2 separate regions of the Homo sapiens genome follow, and region 2 is linked to region 1. Evidence: promoter capture Hi-C in human tissues and cell types (Jung and others, 2019). All regions are on one chromosome and are shown on one strand. The core of a region is centred on a gene start or on the middle of the fragment in contact, and the rest is flanking DNA. Distances in the headings are between cores, read along the strand shown. Region 1 holds the start of MYLK (myosin light chain kinase). Region 2 overlaps MYLK (myosin light chain kinase).

The links. Contacts are between HindIII fragments. The study calls those that stand out against the background at their distance.
Region 2: a fragment that was not itself captured here is called in contact with the fragment with the promoter of MYLK in region 1 in 2 of the 25 tissues and cell types used here (mesenchymal stem cells and thymus).

Annotation. Positions count from the first base shown.
Region 1 is chr3:123,881,257-123,886,426 of GRCh38, forward strand. It overlaps MYLK (myosin light chain kinase), which reads right to left and starts at 3,076. Exons shown (of 34, transcript NM_053025.4): 1 at 2,950-3,076. It also overlaps a transcript of CCDC14 not described here. RefSeq lists a silencer at 2,956-3,115. The HindIII fragment of the contact is 8,771 bases long and covers 1-5,170 here.
Region 2 is chr3:123,713,097-123,717,826 of GRCh38, forward strand. The region is part of intron 13 of MYLK (myosin light chain kinase); the gene reads right to left. LOC105369194 (a long non-coding RNA gene) reads left to right here. Exons shown (of 3, transcript XR_924417.4): 3 at 1-3,304. Among named protein-coding and RNA genes, the nearest start is that of MYLK-AS2, 26 kb to the left of the region's middle. The HindIII fragment of the contact is 3,875 bases long and covers 1,215-4,730 here.

The DNA.
Region 1 (5,170 bases), core at 1,826-4,325:
CTCAGGCCACCCAATAGACCCTGCTCAGGCCTAAGCATCCACATGGACATTTTCCATGCAAATGGCCCTGCCTCATGTCCTCTGCATGCACCCTCTGCTGGCCAAGTTGAGCGAGGACATTGTCTTTTGTTGGGAAAGGATACTTTTTAAGTGTTGTTTCTAAATTTTACTACATTTGCTGAAAAGACAGGACAGGAAGCTTTTAAGAATGAACAATCTCCCAGCCTGTGTGGGTTGGTTTGAGCTGTGAGAGGTGCAGCTGGGCTTCCAAGTAGGCTTATATTTCCAGACTCCCAAGTATTGTTCTCAGAAAGATACTAAATAAGACACCCCATACTCATGGGACACTGTACCCATGTCCCCAAGCAAGGCTGCATTCTGAAACCCCCACCCCACCTTATGAACTTCCTAAAAGACAGACAAGCCAACTAGTTGTGTTTCAAACTCTAGGCTCATCTTATATTTTGAGGATAAAAGCAAGGGGTCATTCTCAAAGACACTGAGTATATGGTGACCCCAGCGCATTCACAATCTATGCCTCTGAGACCAGCAAAGATCTCCCTAGCCAGAGACCCAGAACCTTTCCCCACCCTTGGAACTCAAAGGCCTCTCCCCTCTGCACCATCTGGGTCACCTCCTTCTCTGACAAGCCTTCTCAGCAGATTACCCCCGCCACCTGCCAGCCAGGAGCCCCTCCTCTGCAGTGACTGTAGCTGTCTGTCTACCATTTTCAGGCAGCAGGTGGGGCCACCTGGCCTTACCAGTTAGCCTAGGAATGTTCCAAGGCCTAGTCTGCTCTGCATATGTTTTCTAAGATCTGGCCCCTGGGGAAGCAGCCCCTGATGAAGGGGTGAGCAAACCTCACACAAACAGCAACTACTCTGGCTGGGTGCAGTGGCTCATGCCTGTAACCCAGCACTTTGGGAGGCAGAGGTGGGCGATCACTTGAGCCCATTAGACTAGTATGGACAACATGGTAGGACCCCATCTCTACAAAAAATCCAAAAAACTAGCCAGGTGTGGTGGCACACACCTGTAGTCCCTGCTACTCAGGAGGCTGAGGTGGAGGATTCCTTGAGCCTGGTAGGTCAAGGTTGCAGTGAGCTGAGATCACGCCACTGTACTCCAGCCTGGGCAACAGAGCCAGACCCTGTCTCAAAATAAAAAATAAAAATAAAAATAAGACAAGGAAACATCTACAATGCTGCAGCTACCCTCCTCCTCAGCTAGCCAGTTATTACACAAAAGAAACTGAACATGGGAGATAAACCAGCATAAATGCTTCCCCACTGTGGGGTGGTTCTCCAAGCTCATGCTTAGCTGCAAATGAGGTCCAGCATCCTTTGTATCATCAGTGAACAATGAGACAGACCTGCACATCTTGGCAAAAAAAGCTCTTGTGCATGTCCCCAGAGTACCCGCTACCCAATCCAGCATCCAGAGTCCAACCACTCCGGACCCAGGACCAACTGCTCAGGTTCCTCCCAGACCCAAGGCTCCTGGCCCACTGAGAGTGGGAGAAAAAGGGGTAACCTCACTCTGGGCAGGAAGGAAAATTCCATGCTGCCCTAGAGCACTGTGGTGCCAGCAGCATCATCCTCCACAGTCCCACAGTGTGCAGGCGGGGAAGAGACTAAGAGAATCACGGAAGAGAGAAGGAGGTCAAGAATTTAAGAGAAAAGAAAACAGTTCTATTAGAACCCTAAATGCCTTGTAGGAACCTAGTAAAGTCACCAGATGCACCTACACTTCTCCCAGAGACTTGCATTGTTGATTCCTGATTCTTTGAAGTGTGGGCGGGGTTCCCCAAATGGTCCTCCTAAGCCCACCATCTGGAAATAATTTATTGATAAGTGCATTTTGACAAAAAGTATTCCATTCAGGTGGAGAAGAACACAGCCTCTCTTGGAAGGGGGATGCAGCTCCAGGGCAGGCTCTCAAAGGCTGTGGGGTGGGCGGGTCATTGCATATACTCTGGTCTTTGCACTTGGGGAGAGGAGGGATGGTAAAAACCAACGGCCTGAGGTCTGGCATCATGCCCACTGCCCAGGTGTTTCCCTACACCCACCCAGCTCCCTGAATCACAACAGCTAATTTTACTCCCTCTAGACTCTAGTAGAGCTGGGTCTTCTCCTTCTGGCTACGAAATAGAAAGTGCCCCGCACCCCAACACACACACCCCAATCTAAAAAAAATATATATCCTTGAAACCATTTCCCCATCAGCCCATCTTCACATCTGCAATGCCACTCCTAGAAATTCAGTCCTTTGGGTCTTGAAGGGTTTTAGTTCCATAAGTTCCAGGGAGGGGTCTACCTCAACCATTGACAACTCACATCTCCTGAGAAGTTTATCCAAAACTTTCCAACTGCAATCATCGGCGAACAAGGTCCCTCAACAATGGGACCCCAGTTAACGCGAAGGAGGCAGAGCGAGGTAAGGAGCTTAAATGAGGAGTATGGAGTAGGAACAAGTCTGCAAAGCCCGCGCCCCAGCTTCGCCTGGGATGGCCAGGTCTGGCACTCGCGGGCCGCCTTCCCCGCCCTACCTTCCCGGAATCACATTTGGGCTGGAAGGACCTTCACGTGGCACCCCCTTCCCAGAGGCCGTCACCGAGTCCTCTAGCGAGGGTCTGGGAGCTGGGAGAAGGGTCCGCTTCTCCTCCGCCCCTCAAATCAAAGGCACCCCCTTCGGATGATTCCTAGAAAGGCAATCGCATCAGTGTCCCCAAGCACTTCATCTCCCCAAAAGAAAACTCGTGCAGCCTGGCGTCACTGGGGTCGTCTCCTTACGCCCCTGACTCCTCGCCGCACCCCGGGGCCCCTCTCCATTAGGGGAGTCGGGAGGCACAGACGGTGGGGGTCCCAGCCCCCACCCAGAACTCCCACCCTCGGAGCCTTGACTTCCAGGGCCCGCGCCTGGACAAAAGCATGGGGCGGGCTCACTCACCCGCGCGGCGAAGGCGGCCCGGGAGCCGGGGCACCGGCGCTCGGCGGGGCGCCCCGGCCGCAGGCGCACAGCGCGGGCTCCGAGCTCGCTCAGCGCCCTGCTGCCGACCGGGCGGCGCGGGGAGCCCGCGAGGCGCGTCCGGGACTGGGCAGGGCGGGGCGGGGCGGGGCGGGGCGGGGGTGAGCGAACCGGCGAGAGAGAGAGCAAGTGGGAGAGCGGAGAGCGGACGCGCGCTGAGGAGAGCGAGTGAGAGCGCGGCGCTACGGGGTCAGGACTCAAACCACCCGCTCCAGCCCCCATGCACTGATTTGCATGACATTTGCATAGCGCTCGGGGAGTGGACCTGCTGCCCTTCCCGCCACGCCCACCCGCCTTCTGCCTCGGAGTCCGGAGCGGAGAATCCGCAGCCAAACCTAGCGCCAGACCCGGGCCCCCCTCGCACTTATCCTGCACCGCCCCAGTTAACTCCTCGCAGGCGGCGGTCAGCGGGCTGGTACTGTCTTGGTGCGTGTCTTAGTCCTACACTGGGAGACCTAGGCCTTAGGTCGGGGTCTGATGCTAGCTTCGTGAGCGTGCATGAGACACTGGCTGCCTCTGGGCCTCAGTTTTCTAATCTGTAAAATGAAGATGTCAGCGGAACCATGGGGCTAAAGTTTTAGTGCTGGAAGGTTGTCTATGTAGTTTTTTTCAGACATCCTCCAGTGGTGCAACTCAGCCCCATGGTTCCTCTGACATCCTCCCTTTGTGTGTGTTAAGAATCTCTCATTGGTTTGGAAGATACCTACAAAGTTCTTTAAATTAAAAAAGGGGAAAGGGGAGGGGGGGGAGGGGAGGGGGAGGAGGTGTTTCTGGTTTTGGCTTGCTTTATATTTAGTTTGCACCCAATATGAAATATTTTATAGCTTCTGATCTCTTCACTTGGACCTTCTTTTGTTTTTTTTAAAAAAACTGTTTACTGCAGGTTAAGGAGTGTTTTTAAAAATTTTTTAATTGTAAAATAAAACATAAATACAGAAAACCACAAAAAACAAATATATAGATATATAGACTAGTGAATTATTATAAAGGGAACATCCTTGTAATCACCACCTGGATCAAGAAATAGAACTCTGCCAGCCACCCCAGGAGCCTCTCCATGTGCCCTACCTCAATGACAACCCCCTTTCTCCCTCCTCCCAAAAGTAACCACTAACCTGACTTTCATGTAGTCACTTCTGCTGCTTTTGTTTTTCTTGGTATCTTCCAAGGGTGCACCTTACCCCTCCCCCCACTCTTTTTTTTTTTAATTTGATTTGCCTTTTCAGTCTTTTCCTTACAATTATTTGTTAAATAACTTAAGCCCTTGATCTGTGAGGTTTTCCAGAGTCTGGGGGTTGCACATTCATGAGGCAATTCAGCATGTTTCTCTGTCCTCTGTATTGACAGCAAGTTGGCAGCTGATCCAGGGTCTTCCTCAGACTGAAGTTTGATGTCTTTTGTAAGATTATAGATGGTTGTGTGTTCTTTTCTTCAAGAGGTACATGATCATGATGTCTGGTGTTTGCTCTTTTTTGAGGTTAACAGCCGTCGATGCTCAATTCCTAGATTCATTAATTAATTGAAGTTTGCAAAATCATGGTATTCTAATAATTTTGTTTTCATTTATTAGTTCATAAGTGGATAAGGAGATGCTTCCTCTCATCTACTATTTGATTACCCTGAGATAGGAAAGGCACGATGAATACCTGCTTTTTTTTAAAAAAATTACCCAGTTTTCAAGTTAAGGAATTGATTCTCTGTCATTCTTAGATTTCTTTAATATCATTATAAATTCATGAATTTAAATATATTTGATAGGTTTCCATCTACGATATTAGAGCTCAAATTGTCCCATCTTTGGCCAGTAGGAGCTTCTTCAATATGGCTCCTGGCTCCTTTTGATAAGATTCTAGTAGTCTTTTTTTTTTTCTCTCTCTCTCTCTCTCACTAGTGTGCAAAGAGCTTCAAAGACCCTAGAAGTCTTTGATAGCTTCCTTGCTATCTGATATGACAAGATGTTCCAGGCACATCTGTACATTTGCTGCCTCAAACCTGGAATCAGCCATTTCTCCAAGAAGCTCTAGTTTTTTTGTTTTTTCTTTCCTTCCTTCCTTCTCTCTCTCTTTTTCTTTCTTTTTTTCTTTCTTTCTTTCCTTCTTTCCTTCTTTCCTTCTTTCTTTCTTTCTTTTCTTTCAGATGGAGT
Region 2 (4,730 bases), core at 1,902-4,401, 170 kb before region 1:
ATGAGTGAGTGAACTTGGGGGAAACCGGCCGATCGGCAGACATTTAGTTCGGTGTCACTCATTGCCCCCGGTCCTGTGTTTTGTTCCCCAAAGCCCTACAGCAAGAAAGAAGGGAAGATGGAAATGATTGGGAGTGAATGTTCAGAACGAGCCTGTTCTCAGACCGGCAAGGTGGGACCCAGTCCCAACTCACCATTCCACTGTACTGGTGTAGAGACCAGGAGAGACTTAACTAACGGGAAGTGACTTGGCTAACATCATGGGGCCAGTGTGGGCAGACCCAGAGCTCATGCCCAGGCCTTCTGATGACAAGGCCGGGATGTTACGTAGGCGTCCCTTCAAAGGGAACCAGTCTCCTCCAACGGTGCCCATGGTGACCGCTCCAGGACAAACACACTGTCAGCTGACCCACATCCTAGATCCTTGACAACTGAGAAAAACTAAAGCAGAACAGAGACAAGCCAGGTGAAAAGAGCAACACAATGTGTGTGTGTGTGTGTGTGTGTGTGTGTGTGTGTGTGTGTGTGTGTGTGTATTGCAATTCATTCCAAAGCCAAACAAATTATTCTGGCTCATCTCTGGCCTCTAGCCTCTATCAGTTTCTGCTCACTCTTCTGTGGACTTAAGTAAAATACGAAAGGACAGATGGAAACTGGCATTCTTAACTCGTGGCCCTGGCTGTGTGATCTGAAGCAACCTTCCCAAAGCAAGCCTCGGTGTTCTCTCCTCCAAACTTATGGCAACATAATACTGAGAAGTATGATGTCTGCATCATCAGTCTAATGCATGGTAATATTGCAGGGTTTTAGATGATTAGAAAGTAACATATAAAACAGCTAGAACAATACATGGCACACAAGCAGTATAAAAATCAATGTTTTCTGACTTTCCCAACCCAACTAACTCCTTTGGTTGTGGAAATTCAACCTGATAATAACTCCAATGAGAAAAACCCCCCAAACCAGAACTTTCATGTAACGATGATTCCTTATAAAGCCCAGCGCTCCAGGATTCCAAAAGATGTTCATAGCTAATTCAGTGTTACCCTCAACATCTCGGAAGTATTGGGCAGATTGTGTCTGTTTTACAGTGGAGGGAGCTGAGACTCAGAGAAAGAAGCTCGCCTGTCCTAAGGTCCTGGGGCTGCGATGCCCCATGAGGAGGGAGATGCTGCTGGTGGGGTCCTGGTCTGGGTGCTTTCCCTTGACTGTCCTGGGAGCAGAGGCAGGTCTCAATTCTGTGAGGAGCTTTCTGTCATCATCCATATTCATGTCCAGAGCTACCCATTACCCTGGGAGTCACTCCTCTCTGCTTGTCCTTGGCCTCCTTCTAGCATCATCCTGGTTTAAGGACCAGGGTCTGAGGCAAGAGGCCCCCAGTGACAAGGTTGTCTCAGAGAGCCCAAGACTTCTTCGTCTTGGGAGGACACCCACTGGCCATGGCACACAAATAGCAAGGGATGCTTTGCTGAGACCCAGTGACAGACTTGCCCAGCTCAAATGGGGCCAAACTAAATATACCCCGGGTTTCCCCACAGCTGTGCTTCCTGCTGCTCTGCTGAGACTGAGCCCAGAGAGGGCCTTCTTTCTGGAGTGCAGAAAGGGCTGAGTCTCCTTGCTTTCCTTGCCTAGGATTAAGGATCTAAAGTGCATTTATCTGTTGCTCTGTTACTTGGTATTAGCCAATTCACTCCTGGACTCAGTCATTAAACTGCCACTGTCCCATTTTGACAGAATGGAAAAGGATTGATCGGGCTGTCGTCCAATGGGAAAGACAAGCACAATGACTAAGAATAAGCCCAAGCAGATTGCTGACAAGTAAAAACGATGCCATGTAGACGAAGCTGTTAATAGGACTTAAGAAAGAGCAAGAATGGAGAAAGGGAAGAACAGAGAGAAGAGAAAGAAAAAGAGGCAATGTGAGGAAGAGAGAGGGGGAAAAGGGAAGCAAAGGAAGGGGGAGAGAATGAGAGACAGACAGATATACGCACTCTCCCCTTTATGATTCTACTGACCCATGGAGTTTTTCCGTCCTTGCCATTTTGGCTGTTTTTGACTCACTAGAAGTTGTTTTTGAAGCCAGTTCCTAGTCATGAAACTAAACATGAAATGATCGCTCTGGTGAAGCAAAAGCATCAAACAAATGACCTATCAGGATCCAAGAGCAGCCATGCAGAAAGCCCATGGGCTGAAGCAGGTGGTGGCCTGGTGCTGCTGCTGATCACCTGGACTACTGTGGGCAGCTGACATCACCTCCTGAGCATCACTTTCTTCATCTGTAAAGTGAATTCGGAAGTGTCAAGTGGAGTTGTTGTGAGAATTAAATAAAACAAGCCAGCTTTTCTAGCCAATTAGACTTTCCTATCAAACAATTCCTTCTTAAAAACAAATTGATAGTGGTTTTACTTTAAAAACCTAATATAAATTGATACCCAACATGGCGTTTTGGAAAGCTTTTATTTAGAGGAAGAGTTAGGAGCAGTTTGCTACCTCTTGCACTAATTCTTCTTATAAAATAACCAGTAAAGCCTCTTCTTCAAACCCAGCACCAGGAGTGAGGCCTTTACCTCCTCTAGGACCTGACACTAGGAACCCACTGTTGCCTTTGTCCTGGTGGCTGACCAGGATCTGCCATCTCCTTCTGCACTACAATAATTCTCCTGTCTTCCCTTCACAGCCCTTCCTTTTCTTTCCGTTGTTTTAGTAGGAAAAACAACTAAATTCTGAATTTCTCCTTATAAGTGTGTTTTTCTACCTGCCAACATTTGCTGGTCAACTTGCTACTTTCTGAAGCCCCAAGGTCCTGGATCCAAATTTGCATTCAACACATGTTTGCCTTAATCTTGGATCTACCAAATATTTTCCTTAGGCTTTGAACATGAGCTGTATTCCTTAGTTATTACAATGCAAAATGCCATTCCAACAGCAATTCTGATTCACTCCAAACCCTGTTATACTATGGAAATTCAACAGATCACCAATTGAGGGGGCACCATGGAAGCACAGTGCCCCCATCTTTCTTTATTTGGAGTTCAAAATCCAGCATGGTCCAGGGATCACCACCAGCCTCCTCCTTTCCCTAAATTCCAGGATTGTTAACTCTGGAGGATTCATCAAAGAAGAGTTACATTCTCCCTGCTGACACGCCACACAGCCCCTTCCCATTTCCAGGGGGTTTGTGCAAGCTGTAAATCCCCGGGGCATCTGAATTCCCCTTAAACAAAAGTCTGTCTCCTAACCAAACAGAACCTTCTTGAAGTCAGCAAAATGGCTACTTTGTGGCATTAAAAGGATTTTTCCTCCCATAGCCTTGTTTTCTTTTGGCCTCCCTTCCTCCCAGAACTTAAGAAGCAAATGGGAAGAGAAGTGTGCGAGGAAAAGAATGAAAGGAACAATGACGTATAATATCCCAAAAAAGATCTCTGACCAGTAATGATAGGGTTGCTAGCTGGGAAGCAAGGATCACTGAAACCACAGCCTTTCCACTGTCTTAGAAGCTATAATCACACTCTAAACATAAAGGTATGGCATCCAAACCACCCACTGTTCCCTCCCAGTGCGGGCCTGGAAGCCACACTCTCAGTTACACTGTCATCACATGGGTCACATTTTGCCACTAGGAGCTCAATCCTGCGATTCTGGATAGCATTCTTGATCTGGGTCTCTATGTAATTATGACTGACTATGGGCTGTAGAGGTGGAGAGTTATAAAGCTCTATAATGGCCCTATTAGTAAAATGAGGCTCAAATTCTATGGCATGGGCACAAACGTACATGTATATGCTCAGAAGTCTTTCTGTAACACAAAGAACCCATGTGGTACACAAACCCAATTCTGTACTCAACCTACATAAAATGAAAATATTGGTTATAAATTTTAACATGTAATTAATTGCTTGCCTTCTTACAGTTTAAAGGCTTGTGGACAGATGTTTTGAATAAACTAAGCTTCTTAATATATATAAAAAAGGCAAGTTAAAACTGGTATTTATTCTTCTTCAATATATTTTTCTGTAGCCAATGTAAGTATTTAAGAAGTTGTCAGTGTTTTTAAGCTTGAGGAGGTCAGGATCCATACGTTATGTTAACTGGATAGATTGTATAGTGTCCAAAGTACCTGTGCATAACCAGGGAAGACAAAGGAGGTGGCTCCAGGCTGCCCCGCAGAGTGCCTGGTATTAATCTGAAAACAAACTGTGCCTCTACTCATTGCCAAGCAAACGCTGACTTCACTGATGCCTGTTGTCTTCATTAGAAGCTCTGCATCAAAACAAATACTCTAATAAATATGCTTGTTATATTTTATTATCTATTCTAGAGATGATCTTTTCATCTTTTTAACCTACCCACATTTTATGTCCTTAGATGCCTTAAACAGGCCCACTAGGCCTTCAGTTAAATAAACAAACCGTTAGGCTGAGAAACTATGTCAAATGGGCACAACTGGCAGGCTATTAATAAATCTAGACACTTAAGAATTTTAGCCTTGATGGAGATACTCCAGGGGGAAAAAATTTTAAATATTCTAGCCCAAGGAAGCCCCCAGCAATGACTCAGTCCAAACGCTGTGAAATATATACTGTATTTCAGATATTCCTGGGCTCTGCAGGAATTTGAATTAATCATCCTGGATCAGGACTCATCCTGGGTCAGGAGGAAAGACATTCATTGCTTGGTTAACTATTGGGGAATTTTTTTTCCCTAGCCTGTGTTGGGGAAAGAAGGAATATT